2 separate regions of the Homo sapiens genome follow, and region 2 is linked to region 1. Evidence: promoter capture Hi-C in 16 types of primary human blood cells and fetal thymus (Javierre and others, 2016). All regions are on one chromosome and are shown on one strand. The core of a region is centred on a gene start or on the middle of the fragment in contact, and the rest is flanking DNA. Distances in the headings are between cores, read along the strand shown. Region 1 holds the start of LINC02285 (long intergenic non-protein coding RNA 2285). Region 2 holds the start of MIR770 (microRNA 770).

What was found. The method cuts DNA at HindIII sites, captures the fragments that hold promoters and counts their contacts. A CHiCAGO score of 5 or more calls a contact.
Region 2: a fragment that was not itself captured here is called in contact with the fragment with the promoter of LINC02285 in region 1 in 1 of 17 cell types (M1 macrophages); the score reaches 5.5 in M1 macrophages.

Annotation. Positions count from the first base shown.
Region 1 is chr14:101,115,939-101,123,358 of GRCh38, forward strand. LINC02285 (long intergenic non-protein coding RNA 2285) reads left to right here and starts at 4,918. Exons shown (of 2, transcript NR_146490.1): 1 at 4,918-5,206; 2 at 6,951-7,420. It overlaps LOC124903386 (a long non-coding RNA gene), which reads right to left and starts at 5,358. Exons shown (of 2, transcript XR_007064341.1): 1 at 5,090-5,358; 2 at 4,576-4,826. RefSeq lists enhancers at 1-281, 282-1,171. The HindIII fragment of the contact is 1,856 bases long and covers 3,075-4,930 here.
Region 2 is chr14:100,850,314-100,857,733 of GRCh38, forward strand. All of the region lies in intron 9 of MEG3 (maternally expressed 3), which reads left to right. It overlaps MIR770 (microRNA 770), which reads left to right and starts at 2,077; the gene lies at 2,077-2,174. RefSeq lists an enhancer at 4,645-5,146. The HindIII fragment of the contact is 756 bases long and covers 2,264-3,019 here.

The sequences.
Region 1 (7,420 bases), core at 3,668-6,167:
ACCCTACAAACACCTTTGGGGAAAATCACTGACCGACCTCGGCTGCAGGCAGCCAGGGTCTTTCAGCAAACTAAAATAGTTACCAAATTCACTCAACTCAGGACCTGAGCTGTCTAGAATAGAGTATAGATAATTCGGTGGACAGGCGGGAAAATCTAAGGTCATTTCCCTGATGTAGCAACAGTCCCTAGGGGAGAGGAGGGGGCCAGCCTCTGCCTCCAGGGCCTGTTTCACTGTTAGGGCGCTGTCCCCTCTCATCCCAGGGCTGCAGGAGGCCATGAAGGAGGTGAGAGAGGCAGAGGTGTGGTCATGGTTTCCCTCCTTGCTCTCAGCACCCAGTGGCTCCTTAAGCTGTTGTTGGGGGTGGGGGTGTCTGGAGGTTTTGTTTATTGCACAGCAGGCGGTCACCTCCAGAGTTCTATGGAATGGATTTCAGAGCTGCTTCCTGGGATCACAAACTCTTTGGAGTTCAAGGGTGCAGAGGCATCTAACATGTGGGAACCCTATGGACTTGCAAGACCTTCTTTTCTCAGCAAAGGAGCACAGCAGCGGAAGACACGGGTGGGATGAGAAATTGCAGCAGTTGAGCACACGCTCACAGTGGCCCTGCCGGTCTGCACAGGCAGCTCAGCTGCTCCAGGACCCAGTTCTATCTACCACTCATGGACACTGAGTGACCCTCAAGCCCCCCTCCCTTCCCACTCCAAGCACTCCAAGCTCAGTGCTCTTGCAGCGCTGGTGGAATTGAAGTCACATTTTCAGAAGAGTCACGGATTCTGATGCTGAGGACTGGGGCTTTACGTCTGTGCTGCTGCCACCATTGTGCACAAACCTCCGGATCCCAAATCTCTCAGGACAGGCTTGCGGCACCGTCTGACCTGACCGTGAACAGCATCAGCTCCTCTCCCACCTGCCCTCCAGGAGCAGGGAATTCACAGGCCTGGAACGCTCCAGAGCTCTGCGTCTCAGGCAAGACTTCCGATACTCTCCAGCTTTGTCGGGCTCCTTTTTTCCCACCAGACTGCACAAAAGGAAGCTGAATCTGGCATGCCACCCACCACCCTGGGCCTCCAGCAAGCTCGGCCTCCTGAGGCCAGAGATGGGACTTGTTGGGGGAGAGGGGCCAGAAGGCTCGACTCTCCAGGATCCAGTTCTGTCTGTCACTTGCAATCTGACTTTGGGCAAACCCCTGCTCTCTGAGTCCCGGTTCCGCTGTCAGATAAGCTGGGATGATGTTCATCTCCAAGTGGTTGTAAGGGTTAAATGAGGGCATGGACATGTTTTACAAATTGGGAAGGAATAGAAAAATGATTATTATGGTTGTCCTTGTAAGTGACTGCTTCTCAAAAGCACACAGAGGCTACCTTAAGAGATTTATTTTCCTTCCCTTTTATTTTGAGCTTGACTTTGGAGGACTGAAAATATTCAGAGCCAGAAGGATCTGGGGAGGTTATTAAGCCTGAACTAAAGCCTTGACAGGTTGTGGTTCTAAAATTGCCAGCCAGTGAACAGGCCTGCTCTCCCACCCTCCCCCTTTCTCCCTATCTTCATGCATACCTCCCTGCATTCATATAATCACCCATCCATTCGTTCATCCACCCATGTGTCCATCATCCATCCATCTGTCCATCATCCATCCATCCAACTCTCCATGTGTCCATCCATCCACTCACCCATTCATCTGCTTCTCTCTCCCTTCCATCATTCCATTCATCCATTTTCCTTCCATATATCTACGTATTCTTCCATCCATCCATCCATCCATCCATCCAACCATCCATCCATCCATCCATCCACTTTTCCACCCATCCATCCATTCATTCATCCACCCATCCATGCATCCATCCATCCATCCATCCATGCACCTATCCATCCATCTCTCCATGTGTCCATCCATCCACCCACCCATTCATTTGCTTCTTTCTCCCTCCATCATTCCATTCATCCATTTTCCTTCCATATATCTGTATATTCTCCCATCCTTCCATCCACTTTTCTATTCGTCCATCCATCCATCCATCCATCCATCCATCCATCCACCCATCCATCCATCTCTCCATGTGTCCATCCATCCACCCACCCATTCATCTGCTTCTTTCTCCCTCTGTCATTCCATTCATCCTTTTCTCCTTCCATATATCTATATATTCCTCCATCTGTCAATCCACTTTTCCATACATCCTTATGCCCATCCATCCATCCATTCATCTCCCCATTTATCCACCTCCCTCCATCTCTCCTTCCAGCACTCACAAACACTGCCTTCATGTTTGGCACAGGGAACCCAGACTTAGATCCATCCCCCACTGGAGCCTGGACAGCCATAGGACATAGGCCTCAACTAAATGTGAAACTTCAGAATGGGGAGTGGGTGTGGGGGAACCCACAGGGGTTCAGAGAGGAACTTTAGCACTAGCCAGGGAAGGGCTATGGTCCTAGAAGAGTTAACTCCACTCTTCTGGCAGCTACCCAAAGAGCTAGAGAATCTGAGCATGTCCCTCCTCCCCCATCCCTGGCCCACCTTGGCATCTTTCTGCTCTGCTGAGGCGAAAGCCGCCTTCACTCTGCAATTTAATCCCAGTTCCCATAGCTCTGCAAGTTTCCTAGACTCGAAGACAAAGATAAAAACATCATAATAACCACAGTGAGACAAAAAATAATAATCCCAGTGCTGAAAAAAATGAGATGCTGTCGCTTACATCTTGATAAACTGTAAAATTTATCTTTTTGTGCCGATCTTCCCTTCTCTATTTCATTTACAGTGGATTTTTAATAAAAAAAAGTTGATAAAAATCAAAGCAACATAATCAAAATAGAAAAGTTTGACATTTATAGATGTTGTTTATTACTATAGTGTTTTAAGGTATTAAAAAGGCACACCAAAATTAGTTTCTTATCAAATGTCAAATTTTCATCAAGTTCTCGCCTACAAACTATTTCAACTTTGTTCTTTGGAACAGAGTTGAGTGTCTCCATGAGCACGTGGGGGAGAGTCCCTGAGGACTTGCAGTGTTGTTTCTCCCCGCATCATCACTCCACTAAAAGAATTAACATGACGTGTTGTCTTCCTAATAAGCTTTAAGAAGGAGTTTGCTTTTCTTGTTCTTTTTCCCCTGCTTTAGAGGCAGATGTGTTGCTGTTTGTGTATCTTATACACTAGAAGGAAACTGCAATGGTGGAAAGGTCTCCTGACCTTGGCCCAGTCCAGAACTGTCCCAAATGACCCCATCTTGACTCCGAACGAGCCCATCCCTTCCGCATGTACAGCTGTGCAAAGAAAGACGCTGTCTCCGTGGAGCCAACAGCAGCCCTGGGCGGTACCAGGGGCAGGGTCTCAGGTTGGAGTTTAATTGCTTGGAACAGAGATCAGCTTTAATCAGCTTGAGCAAGGAGGGAGGAGGCCCTAGACAAAGACCAGGCCCGGGGGGCACAGTGAACATGGGGTGTCTGGGAGCCAAGAGCGAGCCCCAGGAGCGTGAAGACAGTCGGGCGTGGCCAGGATGTGACGGGGCTGGGCTTTCCCTTCTTAGAGATGAGGGCTGGATCGCCGGGAGGGGCCAGCTCCAAGGCAGGAGGCCAGGGCTGCCATCCTTCTCGAACATATCCATGGACACCATGAAGGTGTGGTCAGGGGCAGAGCTGGGCAGTCGGAGGAGCTAGGGTTTGCATCCATCGTGTACCACTCCACGTGTGTCCTGACCAGATCACTTTCCCGGCTGAGTCTTAGTTTCCCAATTACCTGAACTCCCTCGGCCTCAGTTTTCTCATCTGTCAAATGAACAGAATGATTCTTTTGCCTGAAAGGGGAGCAAGCACTGGGTATTCATTCTTCCTGCACCTCGGATCTCCTCTAGTTTGGGGATCTGCGAGCCCGTGGTTGAGCGGGATATGAACTCAGGCTCCTGCCCCCAAAGGAGTCTTTCTCCTCCTCCCCCCACCTCCTGCTTTCCTGTCCTGCTCGGCAGGCAGCCTCGGGTTGCAGAGGTGAGTCCTGCTTTTCTCCCTCCCACACCGTGCTTTCCCTTAACTCCCCAGCCCCAGGGAGAGGCAGCATTCTACATTTCAGAACCTTCTGAAGGGGGTTGTGTCCTTCTTCCAGAGCTAACTCTCTTGAGAGTGCTCTGAGCTGGACAGCTGGTGGGTGGAAGACAGGCAAGACAGCGATGCCAAGAGACACAGCATTTCCAGATGATTAGAGGAAAAGAAGCAAAGGATGTTGCTCGTCTCAGAAAAATCAGTGCAAACAGCCGTCAGGGAAATAGCTTCCCATGAAAGTCCCACGAATGAAAAACAAGAGGAACGAGGCGTCCACTGATCCCAGAACAGACAGGAGGAGCATGGCAGAGACAATTAGGATCTATTAGCCCTGCCCCTCTTCTAAACAGCCACCGGGGGACAGCCTGTGCTGGGCCCAAGAACACAGCGATGGCCAGACGGGCCCTGACCCTGCGTGACCATCCCGTGCGGCTCAGGGAGACAGTACTCAAAGCTCAGGGGACCGGCAGGTGCGTGACATCCAGGAGGGAAAGCCATGCACTGCGGAGGTTTAAAGAAGGCGGGAATAAACTCTGCGACTTTTGGTTTAGAAAACACACTGTATTCAGAGGCAGCCAGAGATGATTTATAACATGCCATATTAGGGAACTTATAATAGCATCTAACAAGCAAAACCTCCGCATTTCAGTGGCTTCATGTAACACCGTTAATTCTTGCTTCCTGAACAGCTCCATGTGGTGCTTCTGGTGGGCAGGTGGCCCTCTTCCTGGCTGACTCAGGGACCCCTGTGGCTCTGCTGTTCAGGGAGAGTCAGAGCCCTCTGTGTGCAGCTGGCAAAGAAGGAAAGTGGCCAGGGGGATGGCCCAGCCCTATCTCAGAAACCTCAGCCCGGAAGTGGCCCACTTCCCTTCCACTCACAGTCTTTTTGAGAAGAAGCTTGTGCCTGTGCCTGGAAGCAAGGAGGGCTGGAACTGGGGCCCTGCTGGGAAGCCCTGTATCTGCAGAACTGTGTCCCGTGGGGGCCAGGGGACACAGATTTTTGCAGCCCTCTGATGCTGAAGCCTTTCTGGGGCTGGGATGACCCAATGCCCACCTGGACCGTGCACTTCCTGGTGACCCTCTGAGACAACTTCCTGGGCAGAGTTGATCATCATGGAGTCAGTGCAAGTCTGGGAACAGTGGCCTGAAACTGCGCAGCTCCAGTGTGTCGGTGAGCGCCGTCCTCCCAGGGCTCAGGGGAGGGCAGATGAGAAACCAGAAGATCCGCAGAGCAGGAGGCTCCACCGGAGGCCCGAGCCAGGGCCACCCAGAGGAACGGGCCCTGGCTGGGGACAGAAGCCTGCTGGTGTGCTCACTGCGTTTCCTTCCCCTTTGTCCCCCAGCTTTTAAACGGGTTTGAGGAAGTCTCAGGGCTACGTCAGCTGTGCTAGGGGAGCCAACGAGGGCAACTGGGCTGAAGCGAGCAGTGAATCCGAGAGGAAGTTCAGGACAAGGGGCCCTCCGTGTGGCTGAACAGGGATCCCTCCCTGGCTGCCCTTCAGTTGGGCCCTTCTCTCTGAGCTCTTCTCCACGAGACTCCACCACGGCCTGCTGAACTCAATTTTAGCAGAGAATCCTAAGTGAGCTGATTGAGAATCCCCTCCCCTTGACAAATGATTGAATTCCACGTCATCATTTTCCATCCACAGCCCCTCCCTTTGCCCATGGGCTGTCAATCCCCAGGTGTCCCCACTGTGTTCAGAACTGAGTCCATCTCTGTCCCTGCTGTAATACTCTTGAGTCAAGTCTTCCTCACCATTTGTAGCTGGTCCGGGGCACCCCACCGAGAGTAGGAGACAATTCTTCCCATCTAGAACATTCCTTCCAGGCTCAGGACCACTCTTGCCTGCTGGGGGATAGGGGCTGCCAAGAGGGGCTTTTCCAACATGGGCAGTGGTATGGGAGCTTGGGCCGACCGTGGCGGACTGGAGGGCAGGCATTTTGGGTGGGAACGGTGCTCACCTAAGGCTCCTTCTGCCAAGCCCCTTCTGGCCTCTGCCAGGACGGGATGTGACAGAGTGCATCTGTGCCCGGCTGCTCAGGGCAGAGTGGGGCAGGGCAGCGTCCCTGGGGAGCAGAACCCCAGGCCTCCGCATGAGAGTGCTTCAGGGGCACCCGGGCACCCTTCTTTGAAGGTTCTTTCTGTTTTTAAGCCTCTTTTAAGCTGCCCAAGTGCCAGCTGAGGCTATTTTGGGATCAGCCATTCATCCCAGGGCTGTCTGGCCCTTCTGAAAACTCTCATTAAATTGTTCATCGACAGGAACCAAATACTTGGCCCCAGGGCCTCCAGGCCTCCCCCGATGTGTGGCCTCCTGGGGTCCTTGCCCGAGAGGCTGAGGGGGAACCTGGCTGGCCACCAAGGCCTTGTAAGTATCTTCTCCCTCAGAAATCCAAGTCTGTCTTCCAAAACACCCCCACCCCCGCCACTGAGTTCATGAATATTCCCTCTGTGGACACACAATTCGAACTTGCGCGCACACGGCCCACCCACCACCTGAGGGAGGGACGGCTTCCAGTAAGTAATTACTCAACACAGCGATCCCAGGACACGACCTCGGAATGGGAGAGCGGAGGCCTTTGTTGGTTCAGAGCGAAGTGGGGTGTTCCCAGGACTGGAGAACTCAGGTGGCCCCTCTAGCAGCTCTGCCTCCTTGGGATCCCATGAGCTCGGCCTCTCAAGCACAAGTGTTATCCAGAAATCTCTGGAATAGGATGAGAGATGATGAGAGGTCATTCCAGGGCTTTCCTCCCCGAGACCCTGGAAGGGCCCAAGGGAGCCTGCGGTGGGACTGGGCCCTAGATAGATCAAGGCCAGCACTGGGACGGGGTGGGCCTGTCCTCAGGAGGCCTCCAGGGCTGCTCACCTGTCAGCACCCCTGGCCTCTCTCTGAAGCTCTCATGCCCTGATCTTCCAGGTGGAGGCCCTTCAGTGAGGAGTCCCCCAGTCTGGGTGGAGAGCCAGCCCGATCGGCTTGATTCCTCCACTCTTGACACCGTGAGCCTCAGATTCTGAGAGCTTGGGAGGATGGACAGAGACTGCGGTCAGCAGGAGAATGGGAAGCAGATGGGAGAGGAAGAAGCTTGCCTTTGGTGGGGACCAGGAGGCTGGGAGCCCAGGCCCATTCACTGTAACATGTGCAGTAAATCCCATTATATTCATGCAAAGAATTCTACACAGCAAGGAAAAGGAAAGAGCTGTTGGCATGCCACAACACAGGTGGATCTCACAGACCTACTGCTGAGCTAAAGAAGGCAACCACGCACATGTACATGCTGCATGGGGCCGTTTCTATCTGCCCAGAACCAGGCAAGAACCATCTATGCCAACAGCTTCATTGCTGCTGTTTCTGGGGTTGTTGACTGGAGGGGCGAGGGGACCCTCTCG
Region 2 (7,420 bases), core at 1,392-3,891, 270 kb before region 1:
GGTGGCTCACGCCTGTAATCCCAGCACTTTGGGAGGCCGAGGTGGGCGGATCATGAGGTCAGGAGTTTGAGACCAGCCAGTTTGAGATCAGCCTGGCCAACATGGTGAAATTCCATCTCTACTAAAAAAATACAAAAATTATGGGCGTGGTGGCACCTGTCTGTAATCCTAGCTACTCGGGAGGCTGAGAGAGGAGAATTGCTTGAACCCGGGAGGTGGAGGTTGTAGTGAGCCAAGATTGCACCACTGCACTCCAGCCTGGGCTACAGAGCAAGACACTATCTTAGATCAAAAAAGAAAAAAAAAAAAAGAAGGAGAAAGAACCAGAGAAACATAAGGAAGAGTGAGAGGAAGAAAGAAAGATGCAATTTGGGAAGAAATGAAAAAGAAATGAATAAAGAATAAAATAATGTAACGGTCAATAAATAGGACTTGTGAATGGAGGCCTTTAGGCCAAAGGCTATGATTAATTTCAAGCTATGTTACTGAAGTCCATAAACAAAGGACTCAGATCTAAATGGATGAACGAATGACTGGAAGAAAGGGTGGTAGGAAGGTAGGAAGAAAGGAAGGAGGGAAAAAGGGAAGAGAGGAAGGAACCTTCTTTCCAGTCCTGTGTTCTAGACAGTGGAATGAAGTGGTCCCCAGGGAGGGTGGCTGTAGGCATGTCATGTGCTTGTCACATGCACTTGCCCTGGCAGGGAGGAGCTGGCTCAGGAAGACCCTGGTCTTGGGGTGCTGTTGCCCTATCTTGGCTGTGTGGGCCATTTCACTGCATCTGTCTCTTCCTCAGTTTCCCCATCTGTAAACCTGGAGTGGCACCAGCTGCCTACTAGAGTTGATCTTATGTGTCTCTGTTGATGGTACCCCATCTATGGCCTGGATAGGCAGGAAGGGCTTGGACCCTGAGCCCCGCAGAAGGTTGCATGAACGAGTGGTGTGAAGCCTGTTGGGTAGCTTGGCCACTCCCGCGGCATGGGTCACCTGCACAGGAGGTTTTGCCCACCAGGGGGCAGCAGAGGGTCAGGGAGCAATAGGCCCTGGGTGGAGCATGGGCCCCGCCTGCTGTGTGCCACCCTGGGTGTGGCACCTACTCACATCCAGGGGTTGGTGCAGGGAAAGGCCAGAAGGTGGCCAGGCGCACCTGAGAAGGGGGACCCAGAAGCCCCGGGACCCAGGAGCCCTGGGCAAGCCACCAGAAACCTTGTTCTTGCAACTCTCTGCAGTGTGCCCAGGCCACCCTCTGGCCTGGTCTTCCATGGGGCAGGGCGCCCACCCTTCTCAACTCAGGTTTCCCTGGGCAGCAGGTGCACCTCAGCACCCCTGGGGTTGCAGAAGTGGTCCGGGGACCCTGGCTTCCTTGACATGCCATCCCCAGAGCCTGGTTCAAGGCCTCTCTGTCTTCTCGGCTGTTTCACGACGTGTTTTGTAACTTGGCGGGATTGCGTTTCGCTGTGTCGAGGTTGTCTCTTCTCTGACTCGCCCTCCGGGGGACTGCCGGGGTAAATCTGGAGAGTTGCTCGTGCTGACAGTCCTCCCCCAGGGCCTCCCCGGTTCTGTTGAGTCTCCTTTCTCTGTAGTGGAGGAAATGTGTGTAGTTTTGTGTTGTGTGCCTGTGTTTGTCTGTAAAAGCAAGGACCAAAGTCTCCCTTGTTGACCTCTCAATTCCTATTTGGGACATATAAAAACACTGGATTCTTAACAAGCGCCCGGAGCAGTAGGAGCACAGCTTGGATGGACTCAGGACTTGTGGCAGGGAGCACGTGGGAGGCAGGGGAGTGGGGTGGGGCCAGGCCATCTGGAGTGGGAGGCGTCATGCTCAGAGTGACTCTGTAGACGCTGGGTGGGATGGGGAGTGCGGGCGCAGGCATGGATGGGGCTGTTAGCTAGTGTGATGCTTGAGGTCTGAGCTGATGGCAGCAAAGTGGGGTGCTCAGGAATCAAAGCTATGGGGTTATAGACAGGATATGAAGGAGGGAGGGAGGCAAGAAGAAGGGGGTGGTTCCCACGCTTCTAGCTCCGGCCGAGTGGATGGCAACAGCATTTGGAAGGCGGAGGACATGGAATTCATGTGTCAGGAGCCACCTTCCGAGCCTCCAGTACCACGTGTCAGGGCCACATGAGCTGGGCCTCGTGGGCCTGATGTGGTGCTGGGGCCTCAGGGGTCTGCTCTTCTTCTCTTTCAGAATCTGGGGCTCCAGGCTATGCCTTGGCTGGACTGAGGTCTGGGGGTGCACTTATTATCCCTGGGGACACCTGCTGAAGCTTCTCCCTGACAAGCTGTGTCACTGTTGGATGAGGATGGGGCGGGAGGGGTTCAGGGCAGAAGAAGACCGGGAGGGTCTTTCAAAAGAACTCATGTACGGCTGTTAAAAAAAGTCAGCAGAGGCTCAGGAAGACTTAAAGTGTGCAGAAGGCGGGGAAGGGAGGGCCCATTGCATGCACCAAGAGGAAATTGGAAGGAACAAGCGACGTTGGCTGCTAGGAGAGCCTGCTCCCAACATCTAGGGGCTGTCCTGACGGGTCACAGTGGGTCGAACTGAGCCAATGAGAGCAGCTCTGGGGAGACCCACTGGTGCCCTGGAGGCTGGGTGGGTTTGGGTTGGATGAATTCTGTGTGTCCTTTTGGAAATGTGGAGGCCATGAGGGGGGATCAGGGCTCTTAGGGTTTTGACCCTTAAGAGTTTTGTATCTGTAATTCAAAGGTTCTTTAGTTCTGGGATGCTGAGATTCGGGATAGGGTTCCTAATGGCACAAAAGCCAGAGATAAAACATCCTTCACGTGCTCCCTACCCGGTTCTTTCTGTACCAGACCCACAAGGTCCGAGTTGGGATCCTAGTGCTCCTGTCTGGTCAGGGCCTATCTTTATGTGTTCGTTAAACTTTTAACAATGAGAATTAATTCTGTCTCTTGACATTGTCATTTGCATGCTCCCCACACACAAATCCTTTCCTGGTGACACCAGGAGCTACAACTCTCCTTGGCCTCCTCTTGTGACTCCCAACTCCCTCCTTGGGAAGCTTGGCCTCAGGACCTCTGGGATAGACAGGCCACGAATCCTGCTGTGTCCCGTTGTGTTCCTAATATAAATGGTGTGGATGGCACTTGACCTAGAGCAGTGGGAAATGCATGCACCACTCAACATTCTGACATGTCACCCATTTTACATTCTTACAGGCATACTTTTTTTAAAAAAAGAGTGTCTATTCTTTAATGAGCATCCCTTCTTTAAAAAAACCTAATTGCCATTATTCACCACATACACTTTTTTTTTTTTGTATCCTGCCTCTTCTATTTAATTTTCTGTCATCAACATTTTCCCTTGTTCCATGAATCTTCATAACCTCACTTGCTGCGTTGTGCCTTGTTGAGTGGCTATGGCATCATTCACAGAACCATTCTGTTATTCTTATGTATAACCACCTTTTAAAAATATTATGAATAATGCCACAACTAACTGCTTAAAACACCCTTTTTTTCATTCTTAAGAATTATGTTCTTCCACCCAGAAATTATCATTGCTTCACTACAGATCAGTTTCCCCTGCTAGACTGTGAGCCCCATAAGGGCAAGGAGCTTATTGAATTGGCCTTTGTATCTCTGATGCCCAACATGTTGTAGACTATAAATAAATGATGAATGAGTGGATGGAAGAATGGAGGAAGGAGCGAGTGAGTGAGTGTTTGGCTGATGGATAAGAGGGTGGAAGGATAGGCGGAAGGATGGATTGGTGAATGAATGAATGAATTTCCTTTGGTTAAGTCTCTTGAAAGAAAGGCTATGGATCTTTGTATGGATGTTGAATAATTTCAGTAAGCTTACAGCATTTTACAATGTTCAGCAATGTATGACCACTTAATTAAGATATGGCTAGTTTGTCTCTGTTATAAAGTACTTTTGCATTACTTTAACTTGCATTGCTTTAATTACTAATGATGGGTGAACACTTTGACCTATGTTTGTTAACAAATTGTATTTTATCTTCTGTGAACTGTTTGTCCAAGTCCTTTGGGTCATGGCTTTCTGAAGAGACTGGTCCCAGATGTCCTTGGGATGTAGGGAGCCCATAGCTCACTGGAGGCATTCAAGGAACCAGCCAGGCAGCCCTCAGAGAAAGTAGTGTTTAGGAGATTCTCATGGTGTGGGGTTGGCCTAGGTGGCCTTTCAGGTCTGTTTGATGTTAGGATTTGCTTCTCCCTGGGAAGTGGGTGATGGGGAAAAAGACACCTTCCATTGGCAGGTGTAGACACTGCAGGCTGGACCTCCTGGGTGTGCTTGTGGACTCCGATCTTGCCCTTGATAAAACCCCTGTGGGACAGGAATAGCTCTTTGAACCTCCAAGGTCCAGACAGCCACATCCTAGCACCCTGTACAATCAGTTAGTGGCCTTCCCACCAGCGCAGTCACTCATTCCTATTAGATCCCGATGAAGCCAGGCCCTGGGGTTTCCATTTTCCCACCTCTTAGGGGAATTGGGTTCCCCGCGTCCTGTGATATGTCAGCAAATGTCCTCAGCCCTGGCCTGCACATGTGGCCTCAGTGGTGGTCTTTGGGGTTTAACTGACGAATGGAACATTTTGGATCAGGACTGATGGGAGAATCTCCTTTCATTTTTCTTCACCTGGGGCAATTACATTCTAAGGAGCGGAATAAAGGGCATGTTCTGCCCAAAGCATCAGGGCTCACAGGTCAGTCACAGCCATTTAGGGAGGGCATGTCACCCAAGGAGGGCTCGCCCTTCTTTCCAGAGCATCCTCCGCTCTCAGCAGAGCTGCTTCTGCCCACCCATCCCTCTACTATAGCACTGAGCACTGTTTGCCCGTGTCAGAATCCCTCACCCACATGTTTAGCTTGGTATCCGAGTTTGGGAGGCCGGCAATGACTTTCAACATGAATTGCTCCATCTACCCATCCATGCATTTGGCCTACTTATCTTGACCCCGTGCTTTTGGCCTTTTCTTCTCCTGAAAGCAAACCCTTTCATTTTGGGTGGGCTGTGTAGCGCCATGGGCTGTGGTTATGAAGCAAACACCCTTTCTTGTAGCTGCCTCCTCCGGGGTTACTGCCCTGAGCACGTCCCAGCTGGATCTCGTCTGCCACTGTCACCCATAGCTTCTTCCCCATGGTGCTTTCCATGTGTCACACACCACGACTGTGACCCAGGGTCGGGGTCAAGAGTAGCCTGGGGCCAAGCCCTCCCACCCATGAGCGGAGAAGTCCTCCCCAGGCCTCACCTTGCCTGGCGCATGGTCCCTCCCATGAGCTTTGCTTTCAGCCTTTCAGCTTCCTCCACAGGGTGGCAGTGGTTGTAACTCATCCATTCATCCCTTCATCCCTTCATTCATTCACTCACAGCCAACAGACGTTTTTAAAAAATTAGCCAGTGCTATACTAGAGCTGGCTCCCAAGGACCCGCTGCCGCATTGCCTTTTGAAACAAAACAATGAACACGTTGGTAAAGGGGCCGTGCTTGTGTGTCGGTGACAAGGCGAGATCCCTGAGTCAGGTCAGGCTTGTAGATTCGAGTTCTGTTGCGAGTTTGATTGCCCCTCTGACTTTGTCCCCTGTACAACTAGGTTGATTAGGAATCAGCCAACTGTGTTCCCTGGGTGCTCAGAAATCACAGCCCATATCCTCGAGAGGCCAAAATGAGAGCCAGGGGGTTCCAAGATGAGTGGCTGCTTCTGGCCGGGAGCAGGTTTTCAAGTCATTAGAACACTCTGGCCTTTCCTGGAGGTGATCTTGGAGCCATTCCTGCCCCTTTCAAGAGGAGTTAATGCCCAGCTCTGTTTAGAGAAAATTGGGGGAGATGATTGCTCATGTGGGTGATAAGAATCACCTCCCGTGCAGGGGTCTGCATAGAACACTCCATAGGCAAACCTGGGTGTCCAAGGCACGTGGCATTTTGCAAACTCTGGGTGCAGCTCCGAGCTGTCCTGCAGGTCCCAGACCAGGTGAGAACTCCCTGAGTTCCTGCTGCCTGGGTCGGGGGTGAGGCATAGGTCTTGGGGGTTCAACCTGGAATTCTGAATGTCATTCATTGCATTGGAGAGGAAGGAGAGTAGGCAAAGCCAAGACCCTGGAACTGGACAAACTCGTGTGGTTTAAAGTCACTGTGAGAGCTGGAGTTGAGTCTGCCTACGGGGGAGGACTGCGGCACCTACCTCGCAGGGCTGTTGTGAGGAGCAATGTAACCGTGATTTTGAACTGTGATTCTGGAAGGGCGGTGTGCGTGTCCCCGGGGGTGTGCCAGGGGAGTGAGGAGAAAAGGCCAGGGAGACAGCCTCACTCAGGCAGCTGAGTGGGAGAGCATTTATCTCTAAACCTGGAGGGGTATATGGTGGGACAGGAGGAATTTGGGCAGGAACTTTCATGCTAGGGGTTTGGGGGACTCGCTGGACAATGCCCCTGGACCCCCCGGGGGTACGCGTTCACGCTCACCTCTGAGAGGCTGGAAACGCCTGGCTGTGCTTTCTGAATGCTGTGTGCTTCCTGCCTCTGTGCCTGGCCTGTGTGCAGCACCTACTTGTGTCCGCCTTCAAAAGGCCCTTCTGGGTGGCGTCCTTTTCCCCAAAATATTAGGCACCAGCCATCAAAGATACTGCATTGTTGCCTCCCCCACCCCTCCCCCCAACTGACAACATTTGGGCTCAAATGCAGCAGGCTGGGTGCCCAACACAGTGCCTGGCGAGTGGTAGCGCTTACGTTTCTTTTCTGTTGAATGGATGGATAGCTAATGAAATTGTAACCAATGACAAGCCTTGATGTTTATAACCTTTACTAAGAGATTATTATTTTGCTCTTCATGGACCTGTTAACAACCACCATATTGTATCTTACGGACGTTTGTATGCCACGTTTGAAGAGCAGGAGCCTTGTTTCGGCGTCATGTTGATGGAACTTGAGCTGTCTGATGCGAATCTGTGTTTTATGTTAGAAAGCGCGTAGCCTTAGGATCTGGCAGACCCAGGGGCCACTTAATTAACCCTTTGCCTCTTTGACCCTCAATCTCCTTTTCTCTAAGCCATAGGTCACCTGAAAGCCTACCTCACAGGGCTGTTGTGAGGGCCGAGGGTGGGTGTGTTTCAACAGTGTGCAGATGCTGGCTTTCCCTGGGAATGGGCATATGTTGGGATTTGTCTTGAAAGCATGAGTGATGGCTTTACTAGTCCTAAGTGAATAAAAAGTCAGCCCTGACCTTACGCTGGGATTGCATTTCCCACAGTCAGTGGCATGTGCAGACCACTGGCAGAGCAGCCTGCAGGTGCTTAGCGATGTGGGCCCAGAGTAAATATTTGTTTGATTGATGAGTGATGGCTTTTTCCTTCCTCAGAGTTTGCCCTGCCCCCCATTCCAACGTGGGCTGCTGCTTCTCCCCAGCGGGTTGTAGCTGGCAGGGCCGTTGTGCTTTGGGGTTTG